Linked DNA regions of Homo sapiens: region 1 is linked to region 2. The links are contacts of gene promoters, found by promoter capture Hi-C in blood cells and fetal thymus (Javierre and others, 2016). All regions are on one chromosome and are shown on one strand. Each heading gives the region's core, a stretch centred on a gene start or on the middle of the fragment in contact. The rest is flanking DNA. Distances are from core to core; before and after follow the strand shown. Region 1 overlaps LOC105369777 (a long non-coding RNA gene). Region 2 holds the start of CALCOCO1 (calcium binding and coiled-coil domain 1).

What was found. The method cuts DNA at HindIII sites, captures the fragments that hold promoters and counts their contacts. A CHiCAGO score of 5 or more calls a contact.
Region 1: a fragment that was not itself captured here is called in contact with the fragment with the promoter of CALCOCO1 in region 2 in 11 of 17 cell types (naive CD8 T cells, total B cells, naive B cells and 8 more); the score reaches 7.2 in naive CD8 T cells.

Annotation. Positions count from the first base shown.
Region 1 is chr12:54,191,715-54,197,917 of GRCh38, forward strand. The region is part of intron 2 of LOC105369777 (a long non-coding RNA gene); the gene reads left to right. Among named protein-coding and RNA genes, the nearest start is that of SMUG1, 5.8 kb to the left of the region's middle. The HindIII fragment of the contact is 8,187 bases long and covers 1-5,769 here.
Region 2 is chr12:53,724,332-53,730,131 of GRCh38, forward strand. It overlaps CALCOCO1 (calcium binding and coiled-coil domain 1), which reads right to left and starts at 3,121. Exons shown (of 15, transcript NM_020898.3): 1 at 3,073-3,121; 2 at 756-935; 3 at 314-416. The coding sequence starts at 911. It overlaps LOC105369774 (a long non-coding RNA gene), which reads left to right and starts at 2,248. Exons shown (of 3, transcript XR_944973.3): 1 at 2,248-2,318; 2 at 5,605-5,751. RefSeq lists enhancers at 697-1,896, 3,214-3,273. The HindIII fragment of the contact is 3,607 bases long and covers 1,570-5,176 here.

The DNA of each region.
Region 1 (6,203 bases), core at 426-2,925, 470 kb after region 2:
AGCTGTGTTGGGCCATGAGCGCCATCTATCGGCCTCTTTGGGTCCTAGCTCCGACTCTGCTCACTTGGGCTGCTAGGCGGATCTTTCAGCCTTTCCCTTGCCTCGCCGCTTCTCACGGGGAAGGGCTGTCTAGCTGCGGGGCCTCCCACTGCACAAAACAAAGGTCGGGAATTGGAGAAGGTGAAGGCCATGTTTCCCCCTTCATAGATACTAAGTTTCACCCTGTTCAGCTCCCACTCACTGTTTCTGACATGGGGAGCCCCAAAGGGGGTTCTGGTGTTTAACTTTCAGTGTAGCCACCTTCCCCACTTCCACTACACTGGGTCCTGTCCCGATTAGCCCAACAAACATCAAAAGAGCATAGGACAGTGAAGACAGCATAGCAGAGGCCTCAGGACTTTGGGCTCTGGAATCAGACTGCTGCGTTTGAATCCAAGCTCTGCCACTTACTCATGGTGACCTTGGGCATGCTACTTAATTTCTCTGTGCCTCAGTTATCTCAGTTGTAAAATGGGATAATCATTGTAATCTCTATCTTCTTTTGTGATGTTTAAATGACTTAATTACATTAAGTGCTTATTACAGAATTTGGGCTCCACAAAGGGTAGTTATTGCTGTTGCTCTGCCAGGGTCTCAGGCAGATGATAGTCTGAGTACCCAAGACCCAGTCCATGAAGCCCTATCAGACACACAAGCACGGAGGACAAGACTGGGGAGCTCATCCTGTAGATTTCCCAAAGACAGTGACCTGCATGCAGGGTTAGGTTTGGAGTTGGAAGTTCAGGATTGCAAGGAAAGTAACTCTTCAGGTCTCCAAGGTCAGCAGAAGTTGGGATAAGGAGGTCACAGCAAGAAAGAACCTGAAGTAAAGATGTAGGAAGGAAATGCATTAAGGAAGAAGCATTAACAGGCCCTTTAAAGGGCCCTGATTTGGGGAAGGGAAAAGGGCTCCTTGATGTGTGAGTTAAGCAAGGGCCACTGCATCCCAAGGACATGTCCTTGGCACAGATGCAAAAGTCTCCAGACTTGATCAGATTCCCCATGCCTCCCCATTCCATCTGTGGGGACTTAACACTCCATGTCTTTTCCTCAGCCTAGTGAGGAGGGGCACTTACAAAGAGAGAAAGCTATCTGCAGGGCCCACAACCAGAGGAGCTAGGCTGTGAGTTCATCCATTTGTGTCCTTTTTTTTTTTTTTTTTTTTTTTTTGAGACAGGGTCTCACTCTGGAATGCAGTGGCATGATCATGACTCACTGCACTCTCGACCTCCTAGGCTCAAGCAGTCCTCCCGCCTCAGCCTCTCCAGTAGCTGGGACTACAGGTGCGCACCACCACACCCAGCTAATTTAAAAATTTTTTTTGTAGAGACAGGGTCTTGCTATGTTGCTCAAGCTGGTCTTGAACTGCTGGGCTCAAGTGATCTTCCCACCTCGGCCTCCCAAAATGTTGGGATTATGGGTGTAAGCCACCGCACCTGCCTGATTTGTTTCTCAACAGGTTCAGCCATCTCGCTGTCTCTGTATCTTCTATATCTCTGCCTTCATCTACCTTACAAGAAATGGGATTATTCTCCAAGGGGTGAGAATAAGGTGACAAAGTGACACCCTCTCAGTTAAGACAGAAATGCAGAGCCAGTGGGGTCCCTGGCTCAGCCTCGCTACCCTGCTACGCACACCTCAGCCCCAAGGCAGCACAACCTAGCTTTATGGATTATGCCTACTTAACTGGAGGAAGATGACAGCGTCTAGGTCTCCTCAACTCTGGTGTCCTCCATCTCCTGGGGCCTGGACGCCTGGGTCCCCAAGAGAGGAGCAGGAATAGGCTGGATGGGCTGATTTGCATCACTTACTTGGGAAGCAATTATCGGAGGAGCTGTCAGCTCAGTGCAGCTCTCTCCTCACTAATCGGATTTCACCAGAGCCCGGGGCTTGGGGGGGCCGAGTAATTTGGCTTGATGCAGTGGTGGGAGATGTCAGGGCCAGGAGGCCGGACAATCTGTCTGAGTGGTGTTAGAGTTGTCCAGAGCAATTATCCTGAGGGACCACACAGACATCAGATAGACAGACAGACAAGGGAATGGGACTGATCCCCAAGTCCTTTAGCAGGAAGGATGGAAGTGAGACTTGGAGAATGGGAGGAGCATCTCCCACAGGTTGAACCAAATTGAGCAACTAGAAGAGGATCAAGATGAGTCTGAGAGAGTGGCCATGGGACCAAGTGGGAGGACGACCCAAGAATCCTAGCTTCCAGCCTACTCAACACCGAGGCCCAGCCCTGCCTTGCCCTGCACTCCCAGGGAACCAGTCACAGAGCAGGAACTTGAACCTAGGGTGATTCTTCTGAGCTCTGCTCCTTCCCCTGCAATGTTCCCAAAAGACAATTTCCTTGCCTCTGGCCCTGGCTCTGTCATTTGCCTTCTCTTGCTCCTGCAGCCCTCTTGAACCTGTCCTTTCCTTCCCACCCATACTGCCCCTCTCATCTCTCTGGTGATCCCTCTCTCTGTCTCTGTCCTCCATTCCACATCTTTCAGAATAGTGGTAAGGGTGATAGTGACAATAACTAACCGTTAGTGAGTGCTTTGTCCACACCAGACACCACCCTGAGTGCTTTATGTGGATTGTTTCCTTTACTCCTCTCAGCAACACTTTGAGGGACATACTTTTTTTTTTCTTTTTTGAGACAGAGTTTTGCTCTGTCACCCAGGCTGGAGTGCAGTGGCACAATGTCGGCTCACTGCAACCTCCGCCTCCCAGGTTCAAGGGATTCTCCTGCCTCAGCCTCCTGAGTAGCTGGGATTACAGGCACCTGCCACCACGCCCGGCTAATTTTTATATTTTTAGAAGAGACAGGGTTTCACTATGTTGGCCAGGCTGGTCTTGAACTCCTGACCTCAGGTGATCTGCCTGCCTCAGCCTCCCAAAGTGCTGGGATTACAGGCGCAAGTAAGCCACCATGCCCAGCCTTTTTTTTTTGAGACAAAGTCTCACTGTGTTGCCCAGGCTGGAGGGAAGTGGCACAATCTTAGCTCACTGCAACCTTCACCTCCCAGACTCAAGCAATCCTCCCACCTCAGCCTCCCAAGTAGCTGGGACTACAGATGTGCACCACCACACCCTGCTAATTTTTAAATTTTTCTGTGGAGATGGGGGTCTCACTATATTGCCCAGGCTGGTCTCAAACTCCGGAGCTCAAGTGATCCTTCCACCTCAGCTTCCCAAAGTGCTGAAATTACAGGCATGAGCCACCATGTCCAGCTCAAGGATGTTCTGATAGCAGGTTGAAAAGAGCACTGAACTTTCAAGGACATTTGGAGCTGGGAGTCTGCCACTTGCCAGCAGTGTGACCTTAGGAAGCTCATGACCTCTGTGAACCTTGGGCTAATCATTTCGTTCTTCACCTGGAAGAGAGGATGACAATGCCTACTTCACGGGACACATGATGCATCCTTGTCTTATCTGCTCTGAGTCTATCAGATAAGCTGTGGGGATATGTCTGTTCTCTCCACCTTTCTACCTTACTGTTGAGCCTCTGCCTCTTTGACCCCCATTAATTCAGGCATGTAGCCCAGGAGTCCTACCACTCTGCTCCCTCACTGTCACTCACTGTCACTCAAGCATGTTGATTTTCCTGATGTTTCACCCTTTTCCAAGAAGTCCAGAGGACCAGCCCACGTTGGCCCCACCACTCCCTTAACAAGATTTGAGTTCTCCCTCTGAAAATATGAATAATAAAGAAACGAGGCACTAGGCCTAGAACTGAATGCAAATTGGCCCCAGTGCTCAATCCAAGAAAGAGAATGCTTGAGCTGTGGACCCAGAGAAATCCTATGCTTATTTGCATGTCATTTGCATTATATTTACATGTGATCAATTTCATGTTCAAATGCACAATCCTCCCTCCCCAGTTTTCCTCCCCTAGAATCCTCTCAGCCTCTGCCCCCATCATTCCCCACAGCCCCTGACCCTCCTCTCCTAGCCCCTGCCACAACCTTCCTCATCCTTCTCTTTCTTTCTGCCAGTCCCCAGCCCCTGGCTCCCCTGCTCTACAGGCAAGGACCCACTTGCCCAACACCCAGAATAGCGTCCTGGGGTCTCACCCCTTAGTTCAGGAGGGACATCCCTGCTTGCCCCCTCCCACCCTGAGCTGAGCAGGCGCAGCAGACAGCAAGCGCGCCTCTCAGCAAATCCCAGCCCCATTCAGCCTGGTGATTAATGGCGCTGCCCTCCCCATGAACCTGCCTTTAATACTGAGGAAGTTATGAAACCGCTATACATCAGCAGCTCCGGCCCCACTGCCCCCGCCCGCGTCCTCCTCCCCTCTAACCCCCACCCTCCAGCTCCCTCTTCAAAATCTCATCTGGGCTCCTGTCTCCTGGGCCCACCCCTCCTCTGGCCTTTGCTGGGGGGAGGAGGGTGTCTGTCCCTGCTGCCATCCCTGGTAAGGACCACATCTCATTTTCCCTTCCTCTCTCCCCCCTGCTCCGCCCTCTCTCCCTCCCCCCAACCCACGGCTGCATCTCCGGACCCATTTAGAATTGCTGACATTTTATCTGCATTACATACATCACTCCGTCCCCAGCAGCCATCTCTCATGGATTATCGGGGGGCGAGGGCGGGGTGGTCCTCAGCTTGGGGAAGTGACAGAGAAACAGGGTGGAGGTGCGGAGATAGATAGCACTTCCTCCACACGCTTTTTCCCTCAGGGCCCAATCCCCAGCCACCTGAGAGGCTGTGCAGGTGGGAGCCTAGGATAGCTGATGGCAAGGGTTGTACCCTAGCCGCCTCCTGCCAGTCACTGCTATCTCATAACATCAAAAGCCTTTTTCTCAGACCACACAGACTAAGGAAGGTCATGTTGCGTGTCTTCCTGCCATGGGACTCCTCCTCAGGACATTATGAAAGGGGTTGTTTAACGTCTTAGCAGGCCTTCTCTAATATTTTCCACACTGCCCTTTTAGGAAGTCTCTCTGAATGTCTAACCACTGTGCTCCATGCTGCAGCCATTATTGTCTTCTTGCTTTGTCCTTAGAAGGTTGAAGAGCAATATTGTTCCTCAAATGCGTTAAACCCTTTGTTAGGATGCCTGAGCAACCATAAATACAGTCACTTTTCCACACTCCTGAGGCTCATAAACATGATAGGAGGCAGAAAGTAGGGCCACCTTAGAAAGGAGGAAATTGAGACCCAAAATCAGGAGAAGGAAAAGCAAGAACCTGTCCAAGATCAGGAGGCAAGGACACAGGGGCCCCACGATCCCAGTGGGCAGTTTGCTCTCCATAGATAGTGGACAGGCAGAGGGCAATGACAGACGGAGAATTCTGGACCAACAGATAGACAGCAGAAGGGAAAGAAAGGGGCAACCAGGAGGGAGACAGGCAAACAGACAAACAAACAAAGAGCTAGACAGACAAAGGGACCGTCAGCCAGGGACAGGCAGACAGGCAAGAGAAAGCCGACAGAGGCGCTGGTACAGCATGTCCCAGGCTGGACACATGAGAAGGGCTCTCTCCGTCTGTCTCTGTCACTCAGGGTCTCTGCTGGAATGTGTCTCTCAGGGTCTCAGGCTCTTTTTGCTCACTGGGTTTGCATCTATCTACTTCCCTGGAAATCTCTGTTTTTCTTGGGCCTCTCAACAGACTGTCCCTTACCTTGTGGTCTCCCCTGTCTAAGACCCCATCCCAGTCACTCCCTCTGTCTCAGGTCATCTTTCTGACCTGCTCTTCACTCTCCCTGTCAGAGAAATTCAGACGCTTCCTGCGGGCTTTGGGAAGCTTCCACAGGAACCGAGCCAGTCCTCCCGGGATGAATGGGAGGGGCGAGGGCTCTAGCAGGGGAGGGGTGGGGAAGGAATAGCTCTTGGGCCTGGAGAAGGGAAAGAGCTGATAGGCCTGTGTCCCCAAAATCTAGCAGGCTTAGCCAGTAAGGCAAGAAGAGCCCGGGCAGGGAAGGTAAAGGGTACAGGACCCTCTGTCCTGTGGCTCAAACCCACACAAAACAGGCCTCAGGCAGTGGGTGCAGGGGTGTGAGTCACCTGCTGTTTGCATCTCATTTGCATGTTTCTGGCTCCCAGTTCAGTCTGGTCCCAAGAGGCTTGGGGGCAGGGAGGGGATCATGCACCAGAGTCCATGACTCTCACGTACCTCCTGACAGCACAAGGCGTGTTCCTGTCCTCTCCTACCTTAAAGCCAGCCTCAACCCCAAAA
Region 2 (5,800 bases), core at 1,871-4,370:
ACCCAGGTCTTTCCCTCTTCTCACCACATAATTCTACCTTTCCCTCTTCCTTACTCCCCCATTTTTCCTTCTTTGGGTAGGACAGGGGACTAGATGCCCTCTGAAGTTCCTTCTGTTTCTATGTCCCTGATTCTGCGATAATCCCGTGATTCTCTATCCGCTGAGCGCTGTTGGATATATTCTCATTATATTTATTTTCGTTTATTTTTCCTTGTCCTTTGTGCCTAACTTTTAATGTTTCTGAGCCCACTACCTTCTTTCAAACCTCCACTCCCTTGGCTCCTCTCTCCCAATTTTCCATCTTCCCTTGTACCTTGGAACTGGACACTGGTGTGAATGGGGGAACCATCAGTTGTACTTTCAGGCACGGAAGACCACACAAATGTGTGGTAATCCCGAACACAGGCAGCCTCCACCTGTGAAAGCCCAAGGTTGGAGAAAGGTATGGTCATGGAACTACCTTCTATGGATGGAAGAAAGGGCTGAGGGGTTGAATAAGGGGGGCAGGATGGAGCTACAGTGGCAACAATGACAAGAGAAAGGGAAAGTGGAGGGACACTAATGTGTCAGTAAAGAACAAGGCTAAGATGGAGAAAATATGTGCTTTGGTTATACAGGCGGCCTCTGTCATCTGTGACATCTTTCTCTCTTCTTCTCTATCAACCTGAGGTTGAGAATCCAAGAGCCCAATCATTCCCCTTATTCCAACCAACTCACAGCCCATAAACCTAAGCCAAAAGGGGTTCCAGAGATACCTTGAAGATGCCAATCCAGTCACTGGCACTGGGCATGGTGCCTGGGGGAAGGGTGTAGTGACATTCCACCTTGGTGTTGGGGATGTAGGTCCGGGCTACATTGAGAAAGTTGACTCCACCACGGGATGGTGCCCGGCTTAGTGGTGATTCTTCCATCCTGGCCTTGAGATATCTGTCCTCCTATGAAAGAAAGGGTTGATAGCCTAAAGTCTTTCCAGTCCACCTCCTTCCCCCCACAGCTCCAGCACCACACACTCACAGCCCCTGCCACTACACCTGGAGATAAGGCATACCTGGTTTCTAGTCCCTGAGGGTTACGGGACATTTTTGAGGTATCACTCTTAGTCTCTAGGACGTAGGTCTGGCCTTCCAAGTCCGTCCCCATCCTGTCTCACACTGTACCCGCTCTGGCTCATAGACCCTTCTGAGGGTTCAGACTTCTCTAATTTTGCTCCCAAAAGGACACTGACGGGGACAGAGCCTGGGATACTGCGACTTGGTCGACAGCCTCCATTTCTCCATCCCATCTCCCACACATCCTGGCTCTTGAATACAAAATCCAACTGAGGTGTGGGGCCCTCTCATTGAGAGAGGTGTCCTTACCTACTCCTAAGCTTGTTGACCCAGCTGTATCCAGGAATGAGTTATGACATCAGAAAGCAGCAACTAATCTCTGAAAGGAATGGTTGAGTTTTCAGAGCTAGAATATGGCTGGGGGTCGAGGGGAACTGAGCCCAAATCCTTAGGCTCCTGAGCTCTCAGCTCTTTTCATCTCTCTGAGCTGCCTACCCCCATGAATTCTAGGGAAGCAGAAAGCTTCTGCTGGCATCCAAGAGACAAAGGGAAGGGGAGGATATAAGGAAAGACAGGTTCTGTCCCTTGACTTATTATTCCAGGAAGTCAAGAATTCTGGAGGCGGCAACTTCAAGGGTGGAGTGAGGCGCTTAGCAGGAACGTGGTGGGGGTGGGGAGATGGAATGTGGGGGCCTGGAGCCAGGAAAGCCCCACCCCAGGGCAGGGAACAGACTAGAAAGTGGGAAGTAAGGGGCCCCAAGAAGTGGAAATGTATATTTAACGTTGAGGAAAGGGGAGATAGTTCAAAAAGAACCTAACATTCTTCTCTCCAGACTGTGCCTGCAGCAGGACTAGAAACCTACTGGTTTCACTTTAGTATTTCTCTCCTCATTTTCTCTCTGCTCCCCTCAGCCTCCATCCTTCCATCTGTTTGTATTGGTAGCTGGAGACACACTACAGGATGGGGTTGAGAGGAAGGGGTGTTCCAAGTTAGCTGGGGAGAGTTAATTGGAAAATATGAGGGTGGGGTGAGGACAGATAACAATAATAACGATCAAAAGAACTCCTCAGTCCAGGGCTGTGAGATGGCCCTCTTATTCATCACTCCTTTCCAGCCCACTAATCTATTTCCTGTGTCACTCACAGCTGACATGTCCAACCAGCCATTGTCACTAGTCATATGCACGCCCCCAAACATCACAAACCCACACCAGGCTGAAGTCCAGGGGACAGGAACTTTAAAAGAAAACAGAAACTCAGTGGATAAAGGTGAGCCAGCAACACAAAAAGGAGCAACTTCTGTCCCCCAAATAGGTAGAACAAAAAGTTTTTTTTAATGTTCATCTCCCTGAAAAATTCCTGGTTGAAACTAATCCATGTTTTCTCCAAATGCAATTCTTCCAGCTTTCTAAGGGTGGGGGTAAATTGTCCCCAAAGATATACCTGGAGAACCCTAAAATACACCCCACAAAGAAAATCCGTAACAGCTGTAAACGTTCTTCATGTCCGAAAGAAAGTTTTGGGCACCTAAGATGTAGGTGTGTAGCCTGATTCAGATGTTCACATGATGGGGCGGAGAGCGGGTGTCCCATCCCCTACTCTGTAGGGCTCTAGAGTTCCTTGACATTCTACACCTTGGAAGGTCCCCCTTCCTCCCCAGGGATTCAGCGTCGTAAAGGCCTTTGGATTTGCGTAGGGGAGAGAGGGAAGACGTGTAGGGGACACGTCTTGCCTGGGAGCGAATAAGCAGATTTCAGCTCCCTTGAAGGGATCAGCTTTATAGAGACGCATTGAGAAGAAGGAGAGGACGACGAGGGGGCGCCCCCCACCCCCAATCAGAGTCCCCTTGAAACCAAGAACTCCCCAAACAGCGGGGGTGGCTTCTCCAGTACGGAAAGGGTTACAACCCAAACGCTCCTGTATTCCCCTTCGACAGTTCCCTTACGTTATCCTTCCCCAAACTGGAAAGTGGGGTGACCCTCCCCTCCCATAAGATCGCCCCCAATTAGGCCAAGTTTCTTACCCAACAGACGGATCAGCTGTTCCCCTCACCTTTCACCAACAACAAAAACAGCACTCCGACTTCTGGAGGGGAGGGAGAAGAGTGGGCGCGAGGGCTTCTGGGGTTTGTGGTTCTTCTGCGCCCTTTTGCCGCTGCGTGCTCGGATCTAGGACTATACATCCCAGAAGGCTGCGCGCAAGGAGGGCGGGGAAGAGGGCGTCCGTGACGGCGGCCTCACCGCGGCATCCTGGGAGGCGTAGTTCTCACTCCTATGACAGAAAACGAGGGTGTGGCCAGCAAAGGACTTCAAGGCCCATGATCCCTTAGGAGGGGGCCGGCTGCATTAGGGGTGGCTGCTGGTTTGTAACGTGCGTTGTTGGGGGCTGGGGAGGATTTACGGCTCTAAAGCCTTCCATATAACGCTTTAACGGTGGGCAGAGCGGTTTCTGTTGCGTCCCGTCCTGTACTTTTCGCACCCACCTGTGAGATAGGCGTTAAGCGTTATGCACGCTTTATAGATGTAGAAAGTGAAGTACGGTTAAGGAGGCGGTGTGAAGTGTCAAAGCTATGAAATGTAGAACTGCATTAGCCTTGGCTAATTCCACGTCATATATTCTTGCCACTACACCACAGCTACCCACCATTTTGGGGATGGGAAACTGATAGCTGGGGTATAGCAGTTTCTTCTTTACTTCAATCTCAGGGACAGACCTTGTAAGAATGATGTCTTCTGCACAGCTGACCATTTTTTTCCAACTTGAGGATTTCAGTGCTAAGGGGCCTGACCATATCCACATCTGGACTGGGCTCCCCCAGAGTGGCTTCTGGGTCTAGGAAGAGGATACAATTGACTGAGGTGGTGGTAGGAGCGGTGGAATGAGAAGAATGAAATTGAAAAGGGAGCTTGGCATAATTCAGGACCTGTCACAATTCACAAACAAGCCACTTATGGGGCCTGTTTGCCCAAGCCTTTTAAGTGGCTTAAATTAATTAGGATAACAATACATGTTGACGTTCCGGTTTTTATTTAGGAGAGGTGAAAGATTGACACGTCTCCCACACCCCAAGTCACGTTATAGACTTGGGCATCCTGTCCCCCCTCTCGCTATTCTCCATCCCTGTAGTCGGAGGCATTCAGAATTACCTCTTTCTCTGGCTCTGCATTAAAGGATTACAGTCTTAAGGATTGATTTCCTCTTCCTAGGTGCCTGCTTTAATTCTCTACTGCACTAAGTTATGGAGCTTCTGCCTTTTCCAAGTTTTTTGGTAGTGTTTTGCTTTTATGACTGAATGCGGTGTCTGCCCTCAGTGTCTTTCATCTGAAGATCTCCAGGCACTTAAAAATTAGTTACTGGGCTGCACAAACATTAAGGTGATGTGTCTGTGTCATTAGTCAGGATTTATGAGTTAGGGAACCAGTTTCTGGATGAGGAGGTAGCTCAAGGTCTGGAGTGGGTTAAGAGTGAGGTCTGTTCAAGGACCCAAGTCTCAAGAGTTCTTGGCTCTTGTCTTCCGCCCAAAATAAAGGTCTACGAGAAAACAGTCTCGGAGCTAAAAATGGTAACAACTTCCATTTCTTGGGTGCTTATGATCTGTTCAAACTATGCTAAGAATTTTCCCATTTAATACAACAGGCTTATGTAATACGCCTTGTTATTATCCCCATTTTACACATGATGAGATTGAGGCACAATTAATGACTTGCCTGGAGTCATCCAGCTAGTGAGTGGCAGAATCAAGATTTAAGCACAAGCAGTCACCATACTCCCAGTCCAGAAACTCTGGCATGTGATACTAACTCCCATTGTTCTAAGGAACAGTGCTGGTTCATTAACAGGAGACAAATGTTCACTGAGCATTTATGTGCTCAGTGCAAGGCACAAAGTAATGTGAAACAGATTCATTCAACAAATATGTGGCAGGTACTATGCTAGGTATTCAGTTACTTTTATTGAAAGAATGAATAGTAAATATTCATTATTTTAAAATAATATATGTAATTCATTATTTTAAAATAATAAATGTAATTCATTATTTTAATTATAGTCATTACTTTCAAATATTCAAGTATTTGAAGGATAGATTAAATTTGGATAGTTTGGCAAGATGGGGACTGGGGAGGGTAAGCTTCTTCTAGGCCAAAGCAAAGATTTGGAGGTGGGAATGGATAATGAGCCTAGAGTCACATAATAGCACATCAATTTCAACCTTTATTTATGTATTTAGGCAAACTCAGATTATTGGTAATGTCTGCCTGAAATGTTGTGTTGAGGATTCTGAGGAAAGAGTGCTGGGTAGTAATGTCTGCCATGTACTCCAGATGGAAAATGGCAGTTGTAGTGGATGGACTAATTGTTTGAAATTATTTCCTCTCTCATTCCTGCCCACTGCCATGTGACTTGCAGTATCTCCTGTAGAAGGAATAGATGTCTCATGTCATTGACTTTGGGCTTTGTCATGTTTCATAATTTGGCTGATGGGATGTGAACAGATGTGACTCATGCCATGTTTGAACACATGAGTTTCCACTTTCTTGTTCTTCTCTGCCACTAGAATGGGAATAATCCACATGAGAGTTGCTCCTTCTGCCTGGGCCTGGGAATGAGAAGACCTGTGGAGCTGAGCTACTGCTTACCCACAACCTGCATATACATAAATCAGAAGCCAGCACTGGTTGTTGTGAGTCGCTTAGATTTTGGGGTAGGTTGTGATTGCAGCAAAGCTGAATAAAAGCTACAGTTGGAGGCCA